2 separate regions of the Homo sapiens genome follow, and region 1 is linked to region 2. The links are contacts of gene promoters, found by promoter capture Hi-C in blood cells and fetal thymus (Javierre and others, 2016). All regions are on one chromosome and are shown on one strand. The core of a region is centred on a gene start or on the middle of the fragment in contact, and the rest is flanking DNA. Distances in the headings are between cores, read along the strand shown.

Region 1 (4,547 bases), core at 1,566-4,065, 250 kb before region 2:
CCAAGCTCTTTGGAGCTGCCCCGACGAATTGATCCCTCATGTTTTAAGATAGGAGCCCCTTAACATGAGAATGCGCGAGCCCTGGAGGGGCAGACCTGCACTCCCAGGGAACTCCGGGCCCTTTCCCGTCCACCCGCCCGCGTTGCCACGGGACCCCGTCACAGCTCACCACCCCCACCCCTCCGGGCCGCAGGCGGGCAGGGCCCCCAGGGGAGTGCGCATACCCGGTCCTCCGGTGTCTCAGGCCGAGGTTGTCCTTGAGGGGCGGGCCGTCGGGAATGCCCACCTCGGGGCGGGCGTGAGGACTGTCCAGGACACCGCTGTAGGGCCGGCCACCCCGCTCCCGCTCCGAGGCGCCTCCGTCCTCAAACAGCACCGCACCGCTGAGCTTGTTGAAGACGATGGTGTTCATGGTGTCGGTTGGTAGGGACGCGCGGCGCGGCCGCAGAGCCTCGGGGCTGGGCCGCCGGGAGCTCCGCAGCGGGGCTCGGCTTCTAGGAGAGGAAGGTGCATCTCGTTACTTACTGGCTGAGAGTGCTCAGACCCCTGCAGGTTCAGGGCCTTGAACTTGGCCGGGTCGCCGGGCTGCGGAGCCGAGGGGAGGAGCGGCGCCGCCGCAACTGGCAGGGACCCTGCGGCTCTCCCCAGTTGGCTACACGCCCCCGCCCCTGCAGGTTCCCCGGACAGGTACCTGCCCTCTTCCTTGCCTGGGCGATCGATCCCCCCAATCCCTTCACTCCCCAGAACTACAACCGGGAATCATTCACCCGCAGAGGCAAAGGAAACGAATTCCCAAACGAGCCTCTGGGTTTCAGTTTGAATCTGGGAGAGGCATACTCCGGACTGCGGAGCGCGACCGGCGTGAGGCCGCGCGTGGTTCTTCAATCACAGCAGAAGACTAAAGCCTCTAGGAACCCCAACTCGGGGCGTCAGGAGGGGTTGGATGGAAGGGAAGATTTGGGGTAATGTGCCAACCGTATCCACAAGACCCCCCAGCTCATGAGTCCCAGGCCATACCGGGATTTGGGGGATTTTCGTGTTTTCTAGATCGTGGATGGTTTGGTTGAAACCCCCGCATCTTCTGTCCGCCAAGGTCCCCCGGGGTGAGGTTGGGTTCAAGGACAGGAAAAAGTTAAGTGGCGTCAGGACGAAAGCACCACTTCTCCCCCTTCTCTCCCAGAATCTTCCTATCATCCCCCAACGCGCCCCGGGAAGTGCATGGTCCTAAGGTCCAAGGCGCCAGGACCCAGGTCCCCAGAGCCCTCAATCAGTGCCATTCTCTTCCGCAGCGCGGGTGTCAGCCGCGAGCTCGTAGCCCCTCGACACCCGCCTCTCTCTGGGGTCTCCGGGGACCCTTTCAGAGGCTGTAAAGGTGTCAGAAGCCCAAGGCAGGAGGCAGCTTGGTCGGCGCACCTCCCGGGCCACTGCTGCCACTGTCGGGGAGAGCCAGCAGCTCACCTCTGGGGTCGCGGAGGCCCTGAGCCTCTGCCTGCCGCGCACCGGCGTCAGGAGCAAGTCCGCGCGGCCGCGGAGCCGCAGAGTTACAGCCCCAAGGCGCGCGGCGGACTTCGCCCGCCCCATCTCCTCGCCTCGCGCCTCGGGACAGCTCCCGTTTCCTCCGAGCGGCCTCAGCTTCGCTGCCAGCGCCCCCTTTGCCCGTCCAGCCGCGGCATGGGCTGCTACTCCACTAACACACGCGCGCGCGCATACACACACACACACACACACACACACACACACACCCTTTGCCTCGCCAAGCGCCCACACTCGCCAACGCCCCCGCCCCGCCCTTCGGCCACCGCAGCAGAGGCCACGCGTGACATTTAGGACCACGCGTGACCACCGCGATCAAACGACGGCTACGGTCTGTGTTCGTAGGGAAGTGAAGTCAGACCTCTGCTGGATGTCGTGTGTCCCCTAGGACTGCGTCCTCCCGCGCAGACAGGTACGTGCCTGGGGTGTGCACATAGCCTCGGTGATAAGTGTCAAAGAGAATTTTCGTGCTTGCAGCCCCTGTTCTACAGTCAAGACTCGCGTTGGTGTTTTCTTTTAAAATCATGCCCTTAGGGATGTGTGTTCATGCTGCTTTATTTGTACAAGACACCCTTCCCCGGCCCGGCCTTCTCCGAGCCACCCCAGCGCGTCCTCCTAGATGCGACGACGTGTTTTTCCTAGCGAAGTCATCACGAGGTTAGCCACCTCGGACACTTCCCCGGCAGCCCCAAGCCCACGCAGAGATCGCAGACACAGACACCCGGCGCGCTGTAGGTCTGCAGGCAGCAGGCTCAGAGGCAAGCGATGGCAAAGGTCCGAGCGCTGTCCTGTCGCAAGGGGTCCGGGGGCGTGTGAACCACACTTGCTGACCCTCCCAGGACTCCCGCGCGCGGCCACCCGCGCCTCTTCTCAAATCACTTACCCCGATTCACTCCAGACTGTGGCCGGGGAGGTCACTCCCTGCAGAAGTGTCCCCCTCCCCCAACGCCGGCGAATAATTTTAAAGCAAAGGAGGCGCGGCCAGGTGGGCTCCCAAGCTCCGCGCAGACCCTTGGGCCAGCCTTGGCCGCTACCCGAGCGCCTCTCCACCAGACCTTGGAGGGAAGTTGGGGGAAGGGCGGGAGAGCACCGGCGCCCAGGGCGCAGGGGCCAGAGCGAGCCTGGCGTTCCGCCGCAGCCGGCTGAGACTCGGCGACGCGGGGGCTGTACCTGTGGCTGCGGGGCCGACGGCCGGCTGCAGGGCGGCTGGCTCTCCCGCCTCGAGACTAGGCGCACTCCCATCCCCGCCGCATGTTCTCCACGCGGGCTCCAGCGCGCTCACCACCGCCACCGCCGTCGTCTCGGCTTTATTTACCCAGCCCGGCGCGCGCCGCCCGGGAACAGGAATAGCGAGGCCTTCTCATGTTTCCTGACTGCCGGTCCCAGCCGGCGAACATCCTGCGGGCGCGGTATCCACGTTCCCGGGCGGGTGGAGAGGAAGCGTCCGCGCCCGCCCGGCCGCGGGGGCTGCTGTTAACCCCTAGCAGAGGAGCCGCTGCCGGGGAGCCCCGGGCCCGCCGAGTCCTCCGGAGCCGGGCGCGGCTCCCAGATCCGCCGGCCTTGCAGTCGTGGAGCAGACGGGGCTTTTCCCTTCGCACTTTAGGAGAGAAATTGGAGAAGCTGCCGGGAGCGCTCGGCTCCGGCTCCAGAAGCTGAGAGGCTGCGGTGCAAATCCCGTGTCTTAGCTGGCCCGATTGCCGGAAATTTCACTGCGCGTGGCTAGGCGGGAGAGGCCACTGTGACGCGCCCTGTATTTTCCTCTCGATTAGCTGGAGGGAAGTTAGAGCTCCGTTTTGCACCTACAGCCCTGGAGCGTATTGCGGGAAGTGCTAGTGCCCAGGAGCCTCTTTTCTGATGTCACTGGGCTTCTGGGGTCCTAGTTGTCTCAGTCAAAGCCAGGCACACATTCACCTCCGGGGCAAGGGCTGGTGAGGCTGCCCTCGCCGCTGGGTATAGGGATGGGGGAAAGCAAGGATGGGATGAGTTCAGCCCAGGTGGCCAACCCGCGGTGGCCCAAGTGCAGAAGAGGAAGCGCGCCCAAAGCCAAGGATCTGCACGCAGCAAAGGAGATGGAACTTAGAAGAATCACAAGCTGGGACACAGGGCAAAGAGAGAGAATGGCTACCAGATTCTCTGATTGATGATACTTTGCTTCCTAACATTACCGCAAATATAAGTAGCGAAAGCGGCGGTTTAGGTGCAACTGCAAGCTCAGAGCTTCTGGCAGCCCAGAAGATCCCCAAGGTGCCAACACGAAGCTGCCTGCGCTCTCGCCGAAGGCCCTGTGGTCCTAGCGAACTTTCGCCCTTTTTAAAGAACAAACTTAGATTTCCCCCCACCAAGCTTAAAGAAATAGCGCCATTTGTCCTTTTCCCCTCTAAATGCGGCTGGCCAGAGCCGGGGCAGTGGCCCACCTTAGCATCTTCTTCGTGTGTGTGTGTGTGTGTGCGCGTGTGTGTGTGTGTGTTTGTGTGTTGGGGGGGTCGCTAGAAGTGCTTAAAATATATACCAAAACTATTATTTTAAAGACTAATCACACCCTCAAATTTCATATGTGTCACCTCCCAAATTACGCGATAGCAAACCGTTGTGCAGGGGTACAATGTAAACCATAAAGGAAGGCCGGTTTACATTTTTGCGCACCAGGAAGATACAAAGTATCATTGGAGCACGTTCTGATGTCCTCGGTTCTCTTTTGTTATATAACTTGCTGTTGCAGCGCTTGCATCTTGTCTTTGGCGCTGCCCTTGTGGTGTGAGTTCAGTACAGGCTTCTGGTCTACAGACCTCGCTGTAGGAGCTTAAAGACAGGGGTAAATCCTAAGGTTTCAGCCATCAATTTTCAGCTAACAAATTTCACCACAGAAGCAGATCTAATTGATAATTCATAGGACAAAAGAGCCACCTTCTCTTTTATGGTCTCTATCAGTGGTGTTAGTCACCGGGAATTGTAATGAAATTAGCTCTAACATACCCCTGAAACATTTTTTGGTCAGCTGTCCCAGGTAAAGCAAT
Region 2 (4,490 bases), core at 487-2,986:
ACAGAAAGGCTTAGGTGAAAGTTCTGTCTGTCTTTAATCTTAAGTATAACATTTGTTTTGGTAATCTTATAAAGATTGCTTCTTGCACATTTTTAAAGAAAAAATGCGAAATTAAATAGATTATGTAACGCTATGGTAGTCAACATACCATATAGTAACTTCTTGAAGGACCCTTAACACAGAATTAAGAAATGCAAAATCGTTATTTTCGTCAAGATAAATTTTGACAGAAATGTAACATTTGAATCTATTCAAATTGTATTTCCAAGTCTAGTGAACCGTAGCAATGCACAAGTTTTATTCAAGAAGGTTGGTGAGTTTAAGAAAACCTCAGGGTGGCCTATGACAATCCAGAAGGCAAGATCAATGTTATTAGAAAATAAATAAATAAATAAATGGTGTTCAAAAATGGTCGGCATAACTCAAAACTAAGATTTTAAAATCAAGACCAGTTGCTCCCCGGTTTCTGCCCATTGCCAAGCTCTTTTGGCTTAAGAACCATAGTTAAAATGAATCCATGTAAATACACAGCACACACCTTTGAAGTAAAGAAAGTAAGTTTAAAGATTAAAAGGAAAAAAGTTTTGGTTACGTGTTTACATAAACTGGGATGTTTACATAAACTGGGAATCACTTAGCACTCATTTTTCTCTTTATCCAATAGATACCACAGATTGTTTTTCTTTCTAAAGGTCAATTTCAAGCTTCCAGCATCATTAGTGAAATGAAACCCATTCGGTAATCACATCGTTAACACTTAAACAGAAGCACAACCGAATTCTTTAGGGGGCTACGGAAAGGCAGCCATCAGCTCTGAGATCTATGAAATGTGGTTGGTAACATCCACGGGGAGTCCGCGCATACACTGCTTTCTGAGAATGCAGAAGTTACTCAGTAAGACCGACAGAAAATCGAACTTTTAGACATGACATGAACAGGGCCCTAAGTAAAACCAAAGCTAAGCCTAGTGTGGGATGACGGCCCCCACCAGACTCGTTACAAGAAGGGGGCGTCAGAGCTGAGACCCTAAGTTTCCAGGAATGGATTCGGTAAGGGGACGAGGAGGGAAGGGACGGCGAAAACCACGCTGGGAGCGGGAGGCAGAGCTGCAAAGGGCGGAGGAGAAAGACGGGCTGGGGGAAGGAGAGGCAGGGAAGCGGCGGGAGAAGTGGAGAGCGGATCCGGGAGGTGATGGGGCCGAGGTAGTGCAGAGAGGGGCGCAGGGACTGAGGAGCAGACGGTCCCCAACCTAGGGCCGAGGCAGGGTCTCGCGGGGAGGAAGGAGTGAGATGGGGCTGGGAGAGAGAAGGGAAGGGGGCGGGTCTTGGTCCCCGGGAGGGAAAGGGGAGCAGGCGAGAGCGGCAGCGGCGGGGCCAGAGAGCCGCCTCTGTTTCCCGATCCACGCGGGCGGCTGCAGAACCCCTGCGGGGGTGAGCGTGGAGACCCCCAGCCGCACTCACCTGCAGCACCCTGCCCCCCGCAGTCGGCGCCCGCCTGTTGCTAGGACGCGGGTCAACACTGCGCGCCCTGCGGCCGCGCACGCCGGCGCCCTTGTGGGAGGCCTACAGGGCCCGTGCCCTCCCCCGGGCGCCGCCGCCGCCGCCTTCCGCTCCCAGCCTCACCCGGCCGCGACCGCAGCCCAGTCCGTTACCCTGGTCTCGGGACCTCCGCGCATCCAAGATTCCCGCGGACCCGTTGCACCGTATGCCCGCGCCAGAGACGCTCTGCGCCCGCGCTGGGTTCCACCCGCCCCGGCCACCTGCTGCTTTCCGCTCGGCCCCTCCCGGGAAACACTTTTATTCAACTTTGCATCTCCCTTTCTCAAACACTTTTATGCAACTCCCGAGTGTGCACCCTAACTCACTCCACGCGGTGGGAAAGGTTGACTTTGACAGAGGTCGTGAGCAGTTGCGGGGTCGGCGGCAAGTTAGCAGAAAACTTAAAATGGAGCAGAAAGGAAGCAGAAAATATTCCTTAGAAACCCCTTTTTACATTTTTCCATAGGCTTCCAGACAAGTGCGTTGTATGTACCTGAAATCTTCACTGAGTACCCCCAAATAGCATAGGGCTTCTCCTAGGATATTTGAGGCTTACATGTTTCTCTCCAAAAAAACAAATATGGTAGAATACTCTGATACTCACCGGGAAAGCAGAAAGCGCTCTTCAATAGGGCAGAGGATCGGAGTGAAATGAAAACATGTCCCCCATCTCTTTTTTTAAATGGCCTTTACCTTTGTCCATTAAGATGGTTTTGACCCCACCTCTAGACACCCTACCAGCAAGAGCCCCAACTGGAACACCAGTGAGGGATAAAGGAGTGGGAATATTGAGGTGGGGGGGGATGGGGAAGAATGCACTATCTTGGGGTGGGGGGACACGGTGTTTAAGGACCAATGCCGGAGCACTTAGGATGATGGGGTGTTTAGGAATTAAAACTGGATTCTTTTCCGGATGCCAAAGAGGCAAATGTGGAATGATGTTAGGATATCACCTGTCATAATATTATACGGATTCAGCTCAAAGCAGAACCTTTCTGCAAACACGTAGGGATATGAGGTATAGATATTTGTCCTTTGTTTTGGGTTTTTTGGAGGGTGGGGGACGAAGTCTGGCTCTATCACCCAGGCTGGAGTGCAGTGGCACGATCTCGGCTCACCGCAACCTCTGCCTCCCATCTCGGCTCACCGCAACCTCTGCCTCCCGGGTTCAAGAGATCCTCCCCCCTCAGCTTCCTGAGTAGCTGGGATTACAAGAATGCGCCGCCATGCCCGGCTAATTTTTGTACTTTTAGTAGAGACGAAGTTTCACCATGTTGGCCAGGTGGGTCTTGAACTCCTGACCTCAAGTGATCCACCCACCTCGGCCTCCCAAAGTGCTAGGATTACAGGCATGAGCCACCATGCCTGGCCTGTTTTGGGTTCTTTTCTTCTCTTTTTGAAAGTGCGAAAGTTGTTAGGAATGGAATAGTTTCACCTAAAGGAGATACTACCTGCAGAGAAGCTTAGACTTGCAACCAGTGAGAAAGGGGCTTATGCTAATAGGTATACAGAGAAGCCCTTTTAAAAATGGGTGGATTACAGTCTGAGACAACAGCATCACACCTGTGGCGGTAATGCAGGTCACAACCTGGTGAGGAGCAGAGGGCATCCTTCGGAAGGATCCTGGAGTAGTCCCAGTCCTGGAAGCAAGGAAGCTTCTGTGGGTACTTTAGTTCCTCTGCACATTTTAATCAGCTGTATGACATAAGGGAGCATTACTGGGTCCAATGTGGATGCCAGCCAGAGATCTTCCAAGTTCAGGACATTTCACCTTGGTTTGCAAAGCTGGAAAAAGCCAGAACCCACCAAGATCTGAGCAACTATGTCGTTGTTTGCCAAATTCATGCCAAGTTGCTTAATCTGATGCCAAAATGTGAATTTATTTTACCGGATATTTTCCAAGCAAAAATAACTTAATAATATTTAAATCTGAAGAAGTCCCAGTCGCCTCTTTCCAATTTTTCCTTGTCGTGATGAAACACTACCTGGGCCCAGTCACTCCCTGAAGGATTTATCATGACTTGTTTTTTTTTTTTCTTTTTTTTTTTTTTGAGACGAGGTCTCATTCTGTCACCCAGGCTGGAGTGCAGAGTGCAGTGACATAATCATAAGCATAGCTCACTGCAGCCTCTGATTCCTGGGCTCAAGTGATCCTCCAGCCATGGCCTCCGAAAGCACTGGGATTACAGCCATGAACCACTGTGCCTGGCCATAACTTGTCTTTGCCTTGTTGCCCATCTGCTACCCCTACAAGGTAAGCTTTATGAAAATAGGGAGCTTTTCTGCCTCCTTCAAGTCTGTACTCCTAAGATCTAGAAGGATGACTGGCACGTAGAAGGAGCTAAATTCATGAATCGCCTAGTCAAAGATGCCTTGCTTCCTGACACTCTTCACCAAGCACCAGAAAGGCAAGGCCCACATTTTCTTAGGGTTAATAGAACCAGCCTGAGGATTCTAAGTAGCCGTGATCTTGGAAAGAGCCTTCATCACTGAGGGCACACCCGGGGTTTGCTGTACCAGAGGCCTTTACCAGCCCTGCCCATGGCTAGAGTGCAAGCACATGGTGCAGCGCTGTCCACTGAAACTTTAGAGAAAATCTGCCACAGGCTCCTGGGAAAAACTTGATAGTTTTTGGTCCACCTCCGCAACATTACGTCATCTACAGCAGGGACCCCACCCACACGCCACACCTTCTGTCAGATCAGCAGTGGCATTAGGTTCTCATAGAAGCATGAACCCTATTGTGAACTGTGCATTCGAAGGATCTAGGTTACAAGCTCCTAATGGGAATCTAATGCCTGATGATCTGTCCCTGTCACTCATCCCCCCCAGATGAGACCGTCTAGTTGCAGGAAAACAAGCTCAGGGCTCCCACGGATTCCACGTTATGGTGAGCTGTATAACTATTTCATTATATATTACAATGTAATAATAGTAGAGATACAGTGCACG

What was found. Contacts are between HindIII fragments. The CHiCAGO score rates a contact against its expected background, and 5 or more counts as called.
Region 1: the fragment with the promoter of MKX here is called in contact with the fragment with the promoter of ODAD2 in region 2 in 15 of 17 cell types (M0 macrophages, M1 macrophages, total B cells and 12 more); the score reaches 9.7 in M0 macrophages.

Annotation. Positions count from the first base shown.
Region 1 is chr10:27,743,004-27,747,550 of GRCh38, forward strand. It overlaps MKX (mohawk homeobox), which reads right to left and starts at 2,816. Exons shown (of 7, transcript NM_173576.3): 1 at 2,704-2,816; 2 at 225-494. The coding sequence starts at 412. MKX-AS1 (MKX antisense RNA 1) reads left to right here and starts at 1,612. Exons shown (of 2, transcript NR_121652.1): 1 at 1,612-1,945. RefSeq lists an enhancer at 2,307-2,897. The HindIII fragment of the contact is 8,324 bases long and covers 1-3,874 here.
Region 2 is chr10:27,997,343-28,001,832 of GRCh38, forward strand. ODAD2 (outer dynein arm docking complex subunit 2) reads right to left here and starts at 1,737. Exons shown (of 20, transcript NM_018076.5): 1 at 1,652-1,737. The HindIII fragment of the contact is 2,296 bases long and covers 703-2,998 here.